Regions from separate parts of the Homo sapiens genome. Here region 1 is linked to region 2. The links are contacts of gene promoters, found by promoter capture Hi-C in blood cells and fetal thymus (Javierre and others, 2016). All regions are on one chromosome and are shown on one strand. Each heading gives the region's core, a stretch centred on a gene start or on the middle of the fragment in contact. The rest is flanking DNA. Distances are from core to core; before and after follow the strand shown.

What was found. The method cuts DNA at HindIII sites, captures the fragments that hold promoters and counts their contacts. A CHiCAGO score of 5 or more calls a contact.
Region 1: a fragment that was not itself captured here is called in contact with the fragment with the promoter of XNDC1N in region 2 in 1 of 17 cell types (fetal thymus); the score reaches 5.1 in fetal thymus.

What each region holds. Positions count from the first base shown.
Region 1 is chr11:72,444,704-72,448,482 of GRCh38, reverse strand. No RefSeq gene overlaps it. Among named protein-coding and RNA genes, the nearest start is that of CLPB, 12 kb to the right of the region's middle. The HindIII fragment of the contact is 1,804 bases long and covers 1,201-3,004 here.
Region 2 is chr11:71,926,818-71,930,993 of GRCh38, reverse strand. It overlaps XNDC1N (XRCC1 N-terminal domain containing 1, N-terminal like), which reads left to right and starts at 2,400. Exons shown (of 6, transcript NM_001375847.2): 1 at 2,400-2,629. RNF121 (ring finger protein 121) reads right to left here and starts at 1,948. Exons shown (of 9, transcript NM_018320.5): 1 at 1,870-1,948. The coding sequence starts at 1,932. It overlaps XNDC1N-ZNF705EP-ALG1L9P (XNDC1N-ZNF705EP-ALG1L9P readthrough), which reads left to right and starts at 2,400. Exons shown (of 11, transcript NR_172895.1): 1 at 2,400-2,629. RefSeq lists an enhancer at 2,258-2,567. The HindIII fragment of the contact is 13,024 bases long and covers 2,135-4,176 here.

The sequences.
Region 1 (3,779 bases), core at 853-3,352, 520 kb before region 2:
TTTATATATATATATATATACATATATTTTTTTTTTTTTTTTGAGACTGACATGCTGCATACTTCACTAGCAAGGCTGCTCCATTTTGGGTTTTTTGAATCTGTAAAGTGGAGAGAATCTCTTCCTCATAGGATTGTTGTTGGAATTAATGTAGCATAAGCAGCAAAAGCAGAGTCTTGCTCATAGTAAGCACTCAGTAAACACGTACACACATTTATTTGCCCATGAACAGACAGAGGGCTACTACCGAGAGACGCAGCTTTCAATGCCAGGGCTCATCCACCATCCCCACCCCAGGCCCCACCCTGCTCTACTAAGCTGGAGAGACGGAGAGAGGCTCTGATGCAGGAATCATTTTCATCTATCAGCTTTATCTATCAACATGAGCAGAGTGGACAGTTCCTCTGAGATCTGAATTATCACCTCCTGACCCAAAGTGCCTTCTCTGTCTTCTCCCTAGCACCAAGGCTGCAGAAAACAAGCAATGTGGAAGGAAGGAAGGAGAGGGAAATAAGGAGCAAGAGAGGGAAAGCAGTTGGCTAAGCTTTGTGCCCAGTTGGAAGAAGCAGAGTGGCAGTAGGCATGGGGTCTAGTAAAGGCTCGTGGAGCAAAGTCTTCATGATGAGTATAAGAGAAAATGGTTAAGTCATTTAGCCCTGGGTTCAAATTCTTGGTGCACTAAGTACTTGCTGGGAGAACCTAGTAAGTTACTTAACCCCTCTGGTTCAGCCTCATTATCCCCTCTTAGCCCCTCCCACTCTACACTTAATCCACACTGAACACTCAGTTCCTCAAACATGCATTGCCAAAAAAAAAAAAAAAAAAAAAAAGAATTGCACTCTTGCCTCTGCTCATTTGCCCGTAGGGTTCCCTTTACCTACAGTGACCCTATTCTCCAAGTGCCCCACCCTACATCAGCTACTGTAATCCCTTTCGTCTGGTCAATTCTAGCTCCTCCTGCAGAGCTCAGCTTAGATGTCACTTCCTTCAGGAAGCCTTCTCTGACCACTCGGCTTGCTATGTGCTCCCAGGGACACCAGAATTATCTCAATCGTGGCACTCACCACTCTCTGCTGACATGGCCTATTGTCTGCATGCCCCTCCAGAGCTCCATGGCTTCTTCATGACTACAGTTTCAGTAACCCATGCCTTACAGGTGCTCAATAAATGAGGCTGAATATTATTGAAACTTTGTAAGCTTTAGAGAGTTGGACAAAAGCCCAGCATAGGCATTGAATGCCAAATAATTTGTTGAGAAGAATGGAGTGGAGTGGAATGGAATGGAATGGTGAATATGCTGATTTTAATGCTATTTCACTGCATTATCCCAAAAGCCCACAAGATGTCAGTGTCTCTACTTGAGAAAAAATGTGGCAGTCTGGATGAAATTAAAAGCACTCCCTCTACCTGATGGCAGAAGTAGTTTAAAGTTAATATTGATATAGAAATAATAGGGATTGGTTGATTGGATTGAATATGTAATATGTACATATAGAACAGAATTCAAGTATACAGTGGAAAGTAAACTCTTCTTCCCTCCCTACTTCTGTCCCTTTTCCTCCAGCCCCACTTTGCCCAACCCATGGGCAACAATTTTTATTATACACATGGGATGGATATCCTTCTAGGGATATCCTAGGTATAAAACCACATAAGTAGATGTATATTTCTTTTTTTTTTTTTTTTTTTTTTTTTTGTTGAGACGGAGTCTCGCTCTGTAGCCCAGGCTGGAGTGCAGTGGCGTGATCTCGGCTCACTGCAAGCTCCACCTCCCAGGTTCATGCCATTCTCCTGCTTCAGCCTCCCGAGCAGCTGGGACTACAGGCACCGGCCACCACGCCCGGCTAATTTTTGTTTTTTTTTTGTATTTTTAGTAGAGACGGGGTTTCACTGTGTTAGCCAGGATGGTCTCGATCTCCTGACCTCATGATCCGCCCGCCTCGGCCTCCCAAAGTGCTGGGATTATAGGCATGAGCCACTGCGCCTGGCCAAGTAGATATATATTTCAAATAACACCAGTGGTTGTATACAACTGTTCTGCGCCTTGAACTTTTTTGTACCTAAAATATCTCGGTGCATTCCATATTAAAACAGTGTTACCCTGTTTAAAAAAATATTCCATTGTTTAGCTTTAATGTATTTGACCAATGTCCCAGTGATGGACATTCAGATGGCTTCTCATCTCTTTCTCTTACAAATATCTCAAACCATTCCTCATTTTATACACCTGCAAGTATATCTAGATTTTAAATTCCAATATTTTGATATTATCAATTAGCCCTCCATTGAAGTTGTACCTATTTACATTTCCAGCAACAATATGAGTGTTTTTTCTTTACAAACTTGCCACGCAGTTTTTTTTATATATATATATATATATATACACACATATATAATACGTAATAATACATGCAGTATATATGCCAGTCTGAGGTGAACTATATCTCATTATAGCTTTTTGAAACAGCTTTATTGAAGTATAACTGACATACAGTAAATTTCACGTTTAAAGTGTAAATTTGATGAATTTTGACATATGTACCCCTCTGAAACCATCACCACAATCAAGATGACTATATCCATCACTTCCAAAAGTTTCTTGTGCCCCTTTGTAAACCCTTCCTCCCACTACCCCTGTAATCCTATCATCCCCATGCAATCACTGTTCTGCTTTATGTTACTATATACAGTATTTGCTTTTATTTTCTAGAATCTTATAAAATTGGATAATACAATGTGTAGTCTGTGTTTGCTTGCTTGCTTATTTATTTGTAGAACTGACTTGCTTCATTCAGCATTAATATCTTGAGGTTCATCCATGTCATTGTGCATATCAATAGTTCCTTTTTATTGCTGAGTCACACTCCATTGTATGGATATACCACAATTTGTTTATCCTTTTATGTATTGATAGAAGTTTAGGTTGTTTTTGAAACCAATCCAATAGTCCCAAAGATGGTTCTTTTTGATAAACATAGAAATTGACCCTCCTGATCTTAAAGCTTGAAATTTATATTTGTTTTATCTGAGTTCCTTCCTCAGGAAACAACCTTCAGGCCTCTGGAAAAAGTATCAAAGAACTGAAACTCAATGGATCACAGCACCAGATGACAACCCCTCATTCATTATGATTGCTTCCTTTGCCCCTCCCTAGTTCCTGTTTTTTTACACATTGTTACATTTCTTCCCTGATGTATAAACCCCTAGTTTTAATCAGTCAGGGAGATGGATTTGAGACTGAGCTCCCATCTTCTAGGCTGTAGCACCAAGAAAGGGGAGCAGCAGGCCTGACCTAAGCCACACCCCTGACCTAGACCAAACCCTTGACCTAGACCAAACCTCTAGTATATGGAAGAAGCAGGACCCTCCCTGGACCTAGACCAAACCCCTGGTGTTTTGGTAATATTTTTAGTTTGTAGCTTTTACAAAGTTGCTATGAACATTCATGTACAAGTCTTTGTGTGAGCATATGTTTTTGTTTTCCTTGGATAATAAATCTAAAAGTTGGAATGACTGGATCATATGGTACATGCTTGTTTAACCTCTAAAGAAACTGCCAAATTGTTTTCAAAAGTGGTTGTACCATTTCACATTCCCCTTCAGCAGTATATGAGAGTTCCAGTTGCTCCACATCGTCATGTGGTACGGCCAGTCTTTTTAATCTTAGACATTTTAATACATATATAATTCATGGTTTTAATTTTTATTTCTCTAAAGAGCAATGATATTGAGGGTGTTTTTTAGCGTTCTTATTTGACAGTAAGAAGTTATCTCTCCAA
Region 2 (4,176 bases), core at 1,151-3,650:
GGGCGTGGTGGTGCATGCCTGTAATCCCAGCTACTCAGGAGGCTGAGGCAGGAGAATTGTTTGAACCCAGAAGGCAGAGGTTGTGGTGAGCTGAGATTGCAATACTGCACTCCAGCCTGGGCAATAAGAGCGAAACTCCATCTCAAATAAAAAAAGAAAATGTTATTTTCTCCTCTGCCAAAACTTCTGCTGTTTATCTCAATGAACCCTGACATATGTAACTACAGCTTTGAGATATACGTAATTGTCTCAAGGGAGAGCCCATGACTAACAAACCTTAAATAAGAACTTCAATACAGTATTTACCCTTTCCAAAGTGTCTTCAAATATATCTCACTGAACCACAGCCAACTGTAATCACAGAAATGTAAAAGCTAGAAGGGGTCTTGGAGGTCATTTCCACAACCACTCCACCTAACCAACCAACTGGTATCCAAACACCTGTAGTCTCTAGTGATTGGGAGGTAGAAGACTACAACACTTCTTTAAAAATCCCCCTGCTGTGATCACCTGTCAATTTCTCAGTCCCTTCCTCCCACCTTAATGATCCCAATCAGGTAATCCAACTCCTCCAACTCATCCCACTACCAGGCAACAGTCTTATTGCTTCCCAAGTCCACTTCTCCCTTTCTCTGAACCTCATCTTCAATCATCCCCAATCCTCCCCACTCTTCCCACACCCAACACACAGCAAGGGGCCTCTAAGATTCTGACCCCTCAGAGATCTCACTGGTTCTATCTCTGACAACCAATCCCCTTCCTCCTATTCCTGTGATGTCTTTGCCCATATGCTGGCATGTGCAAGATCACAAACACCACTAGCTATCAATGTCTCCATGGCTTCAGAATCTTTTCACCTCTGTCTCTGCTTCTCTGCCCTGTCCCTTCATTCCTTTCACACTCAACATCTCCTTCCTCCTAGTGATTCCTTCAAGGACCACTGGTATTTTAATACACCAGTCTTTAAATGCCTATTAGATAGGTAAAGGGAACATACAATCTCAAGGAGCTCACCTTCAAGGAACTCATAAATCCAGAAGAAGAGAGAGACACTTATTTATCGTTTAAAACTCAGCAACTCCGGGAAGCCTTCCCTATCCCAAGCTGAAATGTTGCACACTTCTCAGTGCCACCATTATATCTCTAATGCAATGACTAGTCTTCTTGTCTGTCTCCCACCACTAGACTGTGGGCTCTTCAACGGAGGGGCCCCTTGTCTCCCTAGCACCTGGCCCAGAACCCGGAGCAAAAGTCATAATGTTTATTAAGTGAATAAATGCATGAATTCCGGCATACAATCATTTATTCATCCACTTGTTCCTTCATTCGTTGGCCAAAACTTTACTGAGCATGCATTAGATACAAAGTCTTAGAATGGAACGATAAATAAAACAGTTCCAACTTTAAGATAACTCAAAGCTATACTACTAGTGGATTAGCACTCTTTCCCGGTCTGTGTCCCCAACCCCCACCCTAGGCTTAGACAGAGTCCTCTCCCACAGTAGAAGCCCAGCCTTCCCCTGAAGAAATTCACGTCCCTCCAACTCAAACTACCTCTTAGCCCTTCGGTCCTACCCTAAGACACCCAGCTAGTAATCACAAAATCTTAACACCCCCACCCCTCCGACCTCTCTCTCTGTCCTCCATCTTCACCCTTGAGGCTAATGCAAGTCTTCTACTCCCAAGGCCGCCTCGGAGTCCCCAAGTCAGGAGTGCCTCTGACTTCGCTCTCCACGCACCCGCCCCCTAGTCAGCTCCTTCCCTCTCAGGATCTTTCCCTTCTCTCCTAAGACCCCCACCTCCCGATACCTCACTGCCCCTCCCCTCAGTCTCAGGTTGAGTCTCTCCTCGTCTCTCAACTCCGCTTACCTCATCCAGCTCCCGTTCCCCAGCAGCACCACCTCCAACCTCCACCTCCACCACTGCCGCCATCTTCACGGCTCGCCCCCTCACCGCAGTCCCCGCGCGAGCCAGCTGCTTCCGCTGCTCAAGTGCTCCTAGCCAATCGGCGGCTCGGACTCCAGCAGAGGGGGCGGGGCATCAACACAGGCGGAGACTGTCAGGGATCAGGAGGTTATCTACTTGCTGCACGTTTCAGGGTCAAGGAGAGGGGAGTACCGTGCCCTTGCAAGCTTCAGCAAGGGAGCGTTCTTGGAAAATGAGAAATTTGAATCGCATTATTTTCAGTGCAACTATTTAACCAATTCTTCCCTTTGGAGAGCCAAATGGGAGCGTTCCAAAACGGGCAACTTTCGCGACGCTCCCTCAGTCTGGGCTCCAAGGAGCGAGACGTGGGGACTAGGAACTACGTTTCCCAAGCTGCACTGAGGCTGACCCGGAAGTTTAAATTCCGCTCCCTCCACGAAAGAGTTGTAGTGAGTGAAAATAAATATTAAAACACACGGAAATGTATTTTCCTGGCTGCAGCACCTGCCATCTTGCCTCGGTAGGACTCATTTTCAAAAACAGCAGCTTCTTGAAGCCCCAGAACGCATTCCTGTGCTACGGAAGACGGAAGAGTAGCTCTCGGGGTCAGAAGGCGAAGGTCAGAAGGCCGAATTGGCGGGAGAATAGGTTTGGTGGTCCGAGATCCGAGGCAACGGTGGCTCCTCGAGGTCCACGGTCCCGGGTGAGGGGCGTTGGGATTTGTTGATGGGGAGGGGAGTGGCCGAGAGGGAGGAGGGTGGCCATCAAGGAAATGAACTGAGCAGCCTGTTCCCGATGAGCTGTGAAAGCAGCGGTGCGGCTTGAGCTCCCGAAACTGAGAGCTGAAGAGCCTTGCGGGACCTCCAGGGCACCCACATTCCGCGTCTTACTTAGGCTGTCATGCCAGTTCACACACCTCGGCACACTTTTCTAACCCACATCCTGCGGCCCCAGCTTCTGCCTTACCCTCCTTTTTATACACCATTCACTGTCCCACCCCTACGTATACCTTCATAACTGATTTTTCAGCAGCCGGTGAACTCGATACCTTGCAAGCCTGTAGCCCCAGCTCACACGCCTCTGGGCGTCCGCCTGGATCTGTCTGGTGAATGGAACTAGGATGGCCTGTGAGCCCACAGAACGTCTAGAAAAGTCAGCTTTACATTGGGACCAACAGAAAATTACAGGGAATTATCTACATCATCCACAGGCATCCCATTTACTTAAAAATAATCATTTTTATTTTGTGACACTTAATACGGAGAATATTGTAAATACTGTACACCCATCACCCTAAATTGACTACTGGCATTATGATTTATTTGCTTATTTTTTAAAAGCTAGATAATACAATAAAAGTTAAACTTACCTGTTTTTTCTACTCTCAAGCCTATTACCCTCTCATCCTCTCCAGAAGCAACTATTATGAATTAGAATTAGCTTGTGTTCTCCCAGTCCATTTTTAATAATTATATGTAGCCATGACTATATAGTATTGTATTGTGTTTCATTTTGTTTTTTAATCTGAGTGCTTTTTTTTTTTCTTTGAAACGGTGTCTCGCTGTGTTACCAAGGCTGGAATGCACTGGTTCAATCTGGGCTCACTGCAGCCTCCGCCTACTGGGTTCAAACGATTCTCATGTCTCAGCCTCCCAAATAGCTGGGACTACGTACGCGCCACCACGCCTGGGGAAATTTCATATTTTTAGCAGAGATGGGGTCATGGCCATGGTCTCGAACTCCTGACCTTAAGTGATCCACCCGCCTCGGCCTCCCAAAGTGCTGGGATTACAGGTGTGAACCACTGTGCCCAGCCTGAGTGATACAGGGTCCGGCTCTGTCGCCCAGGCTGGAGTGCAGTGGCGTGATAACTGCTCACTGTAGTCTCATCTCCCAGGCTCAAGCAATTCTCCCACCTCAACCTTGTGAGTACCTGGGACTATAGGCATGTGCCACCACACCTGGCTAATTTTTAAAAATATTTTGTGGAGATGGGGTCCCACTATGTTGCTGGTCTTGAACTCCTGGGTTCAAGCAATCCTCCTGAGCCTCCGCCTCCCAAAGTGTTGAGATTACAGGCGTGAGCCACTGTACCCAGCCTTTTAGGTATAATTATTTGTCTTTTATTTTATTTTATTTTATTTTATTTTATTTTATTTCATTTTTTGAGACAGAATCTCACTTTGTCACCCAGGCTGGAGTACAGAGGGGTGATCTTGGCTCACTGCAACCTTTGCCTCCCGGGTTCAA